Linked DNA regions of Homo sapiens: region 2 is linked to region 1. The links are contacts of gene promoters, found by promoter capture Hi-C in blood cells and fetal thymus (Javierre and others, 2016). All regions are on one chromosome and are shown on one strand. The core of a region is centred on a gene start or on the middle of the fragment in contact, and the rest is flanking DNA. Distances in the headings are between cores, read along the strand shown. Region 1 holds the start of OR52B4 (olfactory receptor family 52 subfamily B member 4). Region 2 has its middle 14 kb from the start of OR52K1.

The links. Contacts are between HindIII fragments. The CHiCAGO score rates a contact against its expected background, and 5 or more counts as called.
Region 2: a contact is called between a fragment that was not itself captured here and the fragment with the promoter of OR52B4 in region 1, in 5 of 17 cell types (monocytes, M0 macrophages, neutrophils and 2 more). The highest score is 8.9, in monocytes.

What each region holds. Positions count from the first base shown.
Region 1 is chr11:4,366,716-4,369,985 of GRCh38, forward strand. OR52B4 (olfactory receptor family 52 subfamily B member 4) reads right to left here and starts at 1,671. Exons shown (of 1, transcript NM_001005161.3): 1 at 548-1,671. The coding sequence starts at 1,580. The coding sequence ends at 636. The HindIII fragment of the contact is 6,509 bases long and covers 1-3,270 here.
Region 2 is chr11:4,495,107-4,498,581 of GRCh38, forward strand. No RefSeq gene overlaps it. Among named protein-coding and RNA genes, the nearest start is that of OR52K1, 14 kb to the left of the region's middle. RefSeq lists an enhancer at 40-1,239. The HindIII fragment of the contact is 2,131 bases long and covers 620-2,750 here.

The sequences.
Region 1 (3,270 bases), core at 421-2,920:
CACACACCACACCTTCAGAAACCATATGTCATTTCCCAACACAAAAATGATCAGACTCAGGTTCCTCAAGGGTTGTTCTGCAAAATATGAATCACATAATTTATTTGCAATCCTCTATTATAGACATTCATGTTCATAGGATATAAATTATAACATAATAGAAATAAATGGAAAACCTAGGAATCACTGATTCTAAGAATGTCACTTAGCTAGAATGAAGGACATAAAAGAATGGAGGTTTGTACGTGACTTTACATGAATACAACGTGTCTCAGAGCTTCAGAAACTCAGTACAGGATGGCTGAACAAATTCCAATGCCAGAGCACTGTTCCCACTTTATTTCCGAAGATTATGATAGTGTTGTCCTGTTAAGGATACATGACTTCTGAAAAATCAATCTATTCTCTCTCAGGCTCTGTGCAGGAGGTAGTTTGTTCAGTCAAACATTGCATTGCTTTCCTAGGTTGTTTAAAAAATGGAAGAATAAGCCCTGTAACTTCCCAGTTGACCTTGCTCCAGACATCGTACTCACTGAGTTATTTCCTACGGTATCAGCTGACCTCTCCCATCTACCACTTTCATACCCACTTACCAGATAGCTAGAGATTCTGAAAACTCAGTTCTTAAACCAAAGTTATTTCTGTTTTATAAACAAAAACTGAACCACCTGTTCCTGGATTTGCTTGGTTTTGATCCCATAAATAATGGGATTCAGCATAGGTGGAGCCAGAATGCAGACATTAGCCAACGGGATGTGGATACAAGGTGGAATGTGGCGTCCAAACCTCTGGGTAAGGATTGTGAAGATGCCAGACCCATAAAAGAGGATGATGATGCAGACATGGGAGCCAAATGTGTTGAGAGCTTTGTGGCAAGCATCTGGAGAAGGCATGTGGAAGACAGCATGGAGAATCAGCATATAGGAAATAAAAATTAGTACAACATCTAAGACCACCGTCGACATTAGAATGGAAAACCCATACCAAATGTTTATTCGAATGTCATTACATGCATATTTGGCTAGGCCAATGTGTTCACAAAAGGTGTGTGGAATAATATTATTCTGGCAGAAAGTCAATCTTTTTAAAAGAAATATGATAGGGAAAATTGTACCATAACTTCTCAGAGAGACAGTCACACAAATTTTCTTGATCAGAGCATTTGTAAGAATGGTGGTGTACCTCAGTGGGTAGCATATGGCAATATAGTGGTCAAAGGCCATCACCAGCAAGATCCCTGACTCAGAGATGAAGGTGGAATGGATGAAGAAGAGCTGAGTGATGCAACGATCCAGGGAGATGTCCCCAGCACGGAACCAGAAGATAGCTAAGGCCTGAGGAATGGTGCACGTGGAGAGGACAATGTCTGCTCCAGCCAGCATGCAGAGGAAGAGGTACATGGGTTCATGGAGGCTGCGCTTTGTGAGGATAATGAAGATGAGCAGGCTGTTCCCAAGAAGGGCGGTGACATAGGAAATGAAGAATGGGATAGAAATCCACATGTGCTGGTCCTGTAGGCCAGGGATGCCCAGCAAGTGGAAGACTGTGTGGCTAGTGCCACTGTGGTTTACAGTAGGCATAGCTGGGGAGAACTTTCAGAACCTCACCTCCTACTCACAGAGGTAGAAGAAGATAAAATCTGCAACATTCTTTGCGATGTCACCAGGAGCTTATGGCATATTCCATAATCTTCGTCTTCTTTGAACATGTAAATAACAAACATGCAAATATGAAAGGTGGTGGTCTATACTCTAATGAATGACAGCCAGACAATATCTCCAAGTAATCAGAATAAGAGACATTATTGTATGCGCTTTAATTATGAATGGAGGATTATGAATATACAGAGGAAATTATTATTTCTGTGTGGGAAAGCTGAATAAGGTGATACTTAAAATTGAGTAGTTTATCGTAAAGTTAATAATGAAGAGAGAAAGAAAGTAGCATAAGAAAAGGTGAGTGTACAGATCAATGCACAGTATGTTTCTGAAATATTTTCAGGCCAGGGTGGCTGGTGCATAAGGAGTACTGAGGAGAACAAGGGAGGTGATGGTATAGGCAGGTTTTTCCTGAATGTGAAGGGCTTCGATCACAACTTCACTCTTAGGCCCCATCCTTTACACAGGGGCAGTCATTAGTTTAGAAAGATGATCTGTTGATATTTGTTGGAACGTTGATTGATTGAAGACACTAAAGCCTAAAAGGCCAGTGGTGTTCCAGGAGTGGACAAAATCTTATTGTATTACAGTCGCAGGAGAATTTAGCTAATGTTTATTAAGCATCACTTTATGCCACGGGCTGTAGTTTGCACTTTGTACGTTCTTAATGCAGGGAGTAGACATCCACTCTTAGAACTGGATAGTACCCCTATTTCACACTTAAGGAAAGTGAGTCTTAGACAATGTGAATAACTTGCCACTTGTCACAAAGCAGCAATTGATAGAAATGAGATTTGAAACCTCTGACTTCACCACATACAGTTTGCTCACTTATGAAGAGGGTCAAGGTACCTCTTTATCTGAGATGAGGCACTCTTTGTGCTCACACCCCAGGGAACTAGGCTTAGAAGTGACTGAAATTAGGTAAAGAGTTATTTCTGGGGGATGAAGAGGGGTTGCAGTTCTTGATATTTGAGAAATTCTTCTGCTGGTAGAAATGAACATGTAACTTCATCATTTACTTCCTAGAATATTCTTCTTCACTCATTAGTGGATTCATTCACAGGCATATTTTGAGCATTGACTATTTTTTCCTGCATCATGCTATGTGCCTGAGTCCTAAATAGCTTTATGGTTTCAGAGAATGGTGGGCTTGTGAGTAAATAGATTTACTAAATGTTCCATGTGGAATGGCTTCAGAGAGTGCCTTCTGAGAAGACAGCCATATTGAATCCCATTTTCAATGGAATGAAGAAATGGCAACAAATAATAAAATACACTCTTCATGGGGTTTCTGAGGATATTAAATAAAGGAATATCTTAAAATATTTAGTTGTTGGCTAAGATATATCTTATGATCAGTAATATTTTTTCTTCCATTCTAGTTCACACTCTTGGTGCATCCTCTTCTTTCTGGGGAGGATAATTGGCTCTTAGTTATTTTTCACACCTGCTAGGATGCCCTGGCTGCCTCCACAAAGCTCCTTCCAATGTGTGGCTTGGGGCAGGTGACTCAGTTCCCTGCCATTTTCAGGGCTCCTTTCATATTATGCCAAGAGTTGTTTGCAGCCTACATCAATATATTTTATGTTTTCTCATCTCTGGTCTAACT
Region 2 (3,475 bases), core at 435-2,934, 130 kb after region 1:
TCTGGCAGTCCTTTTGTTATTTTTTGTGGTAACAGGAACCCTCCAGTCCTCATGTGGATTAAGTTTAACAATCATAAGTTGAAAAGAGTTGGTACTGAACACATTATGTACCTGATAAGAATCATTACTCAAGGATGGTATGGTCCACATCCAATTCTGATAAGAATAAGCTAAACAGCCAGGTGACATTCCAATGCACAGTGGTGGATATTTATAGCCGATTGACAAATTAAAGTGCACATCTCCTTCTGGTTGAGCTGGAAAGCTGTCATCATTAGGGGCTGGCATGAAGGCACTATTATTAGTGTAAACTTCTACTGAGGAGTCCATCCAGGAGACAGACTGAATTAAAGGGGGAAAAGGAACATATGTGCAAGAAGCATAATTTTGAGTTGCCCCAACTGCTGGTATACTCACCACTACACTGACTACCATAAAGGCAGCCAGAATTATATTACCTGTTTTTGGAATTCCTTTTTCTTGTAGTAATTTTTCCGTTTGATGTGATAAGACCTTTATTTGACCCCATGTTGGTGGAGTAGAATGACTGGTATTGTAGGTCACACGGTGAGATTGTGTCATAATGTTGAGGTCATGGAATTTATGTGTCAGGCGGCAAAGCTTGCCTTTCAATTTCTGACGTTTCTTCGCCTTTTGTTTCTGAGAGCTTTTTATCTTTGAAGTTATAGTGCAATTTCAGTTGCCGGGAGGGAACCCACACGGGTTGTTGTCCTTCTTTTGGGCAAACACAGCAAAACCCCTACCCCATGTTACCACAGTGCCTGATTCCTGTTTGTCAGTTTTGCATCTTTCCACCATACCCGCTTTTCCTTTTTGTGGATCAAATTTATTTCCAGTGAAATGTTCTGCTGCTGTAAAAGGTTGATTTCTTACTAAATTTAAGAAATTTAGTGTAAAAAAGCAGCACTAGTGTAGCCGGGGCCGTCATTAGTTTTTAGTTTCTCGGGACAGCCCATAACTGAGAAAGATGAAAGTATGTGTCGTTTAACATGAACCATATACTTTCCCTTGTTTGACAAGTGACCCAGATAAAATGAGAAAAGGTGTCAATAGTTAATGTATAAAAGAGAGTTTGCCGAAAGCAGGATAATGAGTCACATCCATTTGCCAGAGAGCATTTTGTGAAAGTCCTCTAGGATTAACTCCTGAAGAAAGTGGCTGTAACATTAACACTTGACAAGTAGGACAGTGATGTACGATGGTTTTAGCTTGTTTGCCTGTAAAGGGGAACTTTTTCCAGAGTCCTGCAGCACTGACATGAGTTAAAGCATGAACATTTTCTGCATCTGTAAAAACGGGAGCAACTAATGTATCAGCTTTGGCATTTGCTGCCGAGAGGGGTCCGGGGAGGGGTGTGTGAGCCCGAATGAGTAATGTAGAAAGAAGACCTTGCTGTGAGTACGGATTGAAACTTTTGGAAAAGAAAAATTAGGTTATCAGGCAGAAGTTTGATTAAGGCAGTTTCAACGTTGCGAGCAACATGTACTACATAGGCCGAATCAGAAACGATGTTAACTGGTTCAGGGAAATCTTCAAGAACAGCCATGACAGCGATCAGCTCAGCTCGTTGTGCTGAAATAACTCCTGTGTTAAGAACACATTCTCTTGGCCCGGTACATGCTGCTTGGCCATTATTACAGGAAGCATCAGTAAAAACAGTGACAGCTTCAGCTAATGGTGTGTTTCTAGTAATGTTAAGGTAAGATCCAAGAAGTGAGTTTAAGGAACCGGAATAGTTTTGCATTAGGATAATGATAATCAGTTATACCCGGGAAACGTGCCAAATGTACTTGCCAAGCAATGCAGGTTGCAAAAGCCTGTTGGACTTGTAATCAGGTGAGGGGAACAATGATTTTTTGGGGCTTAATAACCTTGTCTTCTAGCTGCATTCCTAAATAGTGATAAGGAGAAGAAGTCTGGATTTTTTCTGGGGCAATAACCAAACTGGCTGTTGCAACTGCAGTTGTGCTGCAGAAAAACAAGATATTAACACGGAGCGTGAAGGTGCCGCAAGATCAGCCGCCTGCTGAGCAAGATCAGTGGGTTGTGGCTGATTTTTTGCCACAGGGAAGGCAGGTATTGGAGGTTGTAAAATTAGAGGAAATTGCCAGGCTTCGGGATCCCCATATTCTCTTGCCTGTGCTATAGCCCTCATAAGAGGAGTCTCATTTTTAGGAATGTATGTGACTTGTCACAGTAGCCACCGGACCAGAAGCAGAAAAAAGTTGGAATTTTGAATGGAGGAAAAGTTGAGAACCTGTAAACCAGGATGAGACGAGATTACCTGCCGAGCAGATCTTTCATGGGCCTGAAATCCAGGCTGCCCCGGTAATTGCAGACCAGGCTACAGGGGAGCCTGAGGTTTCTTAAAGGGAACCCGATATTCCAAGAGAGATCCAGGCTTCAAGGGAAACATTTTCCGAGAGAGACCCAGGCTTCAAGGGAACCTGATTTTCCGAGAGAGACCCAGGCTTCAGGGGAGCCTGAGGCTTCAAGGGAGCCTGATTTGTGGAAAGAGAATCAGGCTTCAGAAATGGAAAACTAGGCTGTGGAGGGATAGGATTGGGGCCTCATTACCAGGCCAAACAGGCAGAAGGTTGAGAGCCCTACAGCAGGGCTGAACAGGGACAGGGTTGAGATAATACAGGAGGGTTTTTATGAAGTTTAAATAAGTCGAGTACTTAGTACTGGCTTGTCCCCTGGTGTCCCCGGGATACTCTGAGTGCTCAAGCTTACCACCAAGCTTATTGACCACAGTCCTCAGAAATCTGTCGTCAAATGAATTGTTTTGGGCCCAGATAATATATAATTTTGATAATTTCACTTATTTGTACCTTGATTTTCCCCTGGAGCCCTAGCCTGCTTTTCTCTTTCTCTGAAGCAGAATTGTCCCTCACAGGATCCGTAATCATGCCAACTTCTCTGAACTGACTATATTGTACTGGATTCCCTGAAGTAGGTTCAAACTACAGGGCTGGTATCAGATATGTTTTTTTATTCAGACTTGCATTTAAATCTTTAATCCATCTTGAATTGATTCTTTTATATGGTGTAAGGAAGGGATCCAGGAGTAATCTTCTGCATATGGCTAGCCAGTTATCCCAGCACTATTTATTGAATAGGGGGGTCCTTTCCCTATTGCTTGTTATTGCTGGCTTTGTTGAACATCATCTATCTCCACTTTTGTAGATTACATATGAGAGATTATATAGTATTTGTCTTTCTGTGCCTGGCTTATAACATAATGCCATCCACATTCATCCATATTGTTGCAAGTGATGGGATTTTAAGGCTGAATAGTATCCCGTTGTGTATACATACCACATTCTCCACTCATCTGTTGATGGCCATTTAGGTTGATTCCATATCTTGGGTATAGTGAGTAGTGCTGTAATGAACATGTGAGTGCAGACCTATTTTCAACATGAGGTTTTCATTTCCTGTGGATATCCAT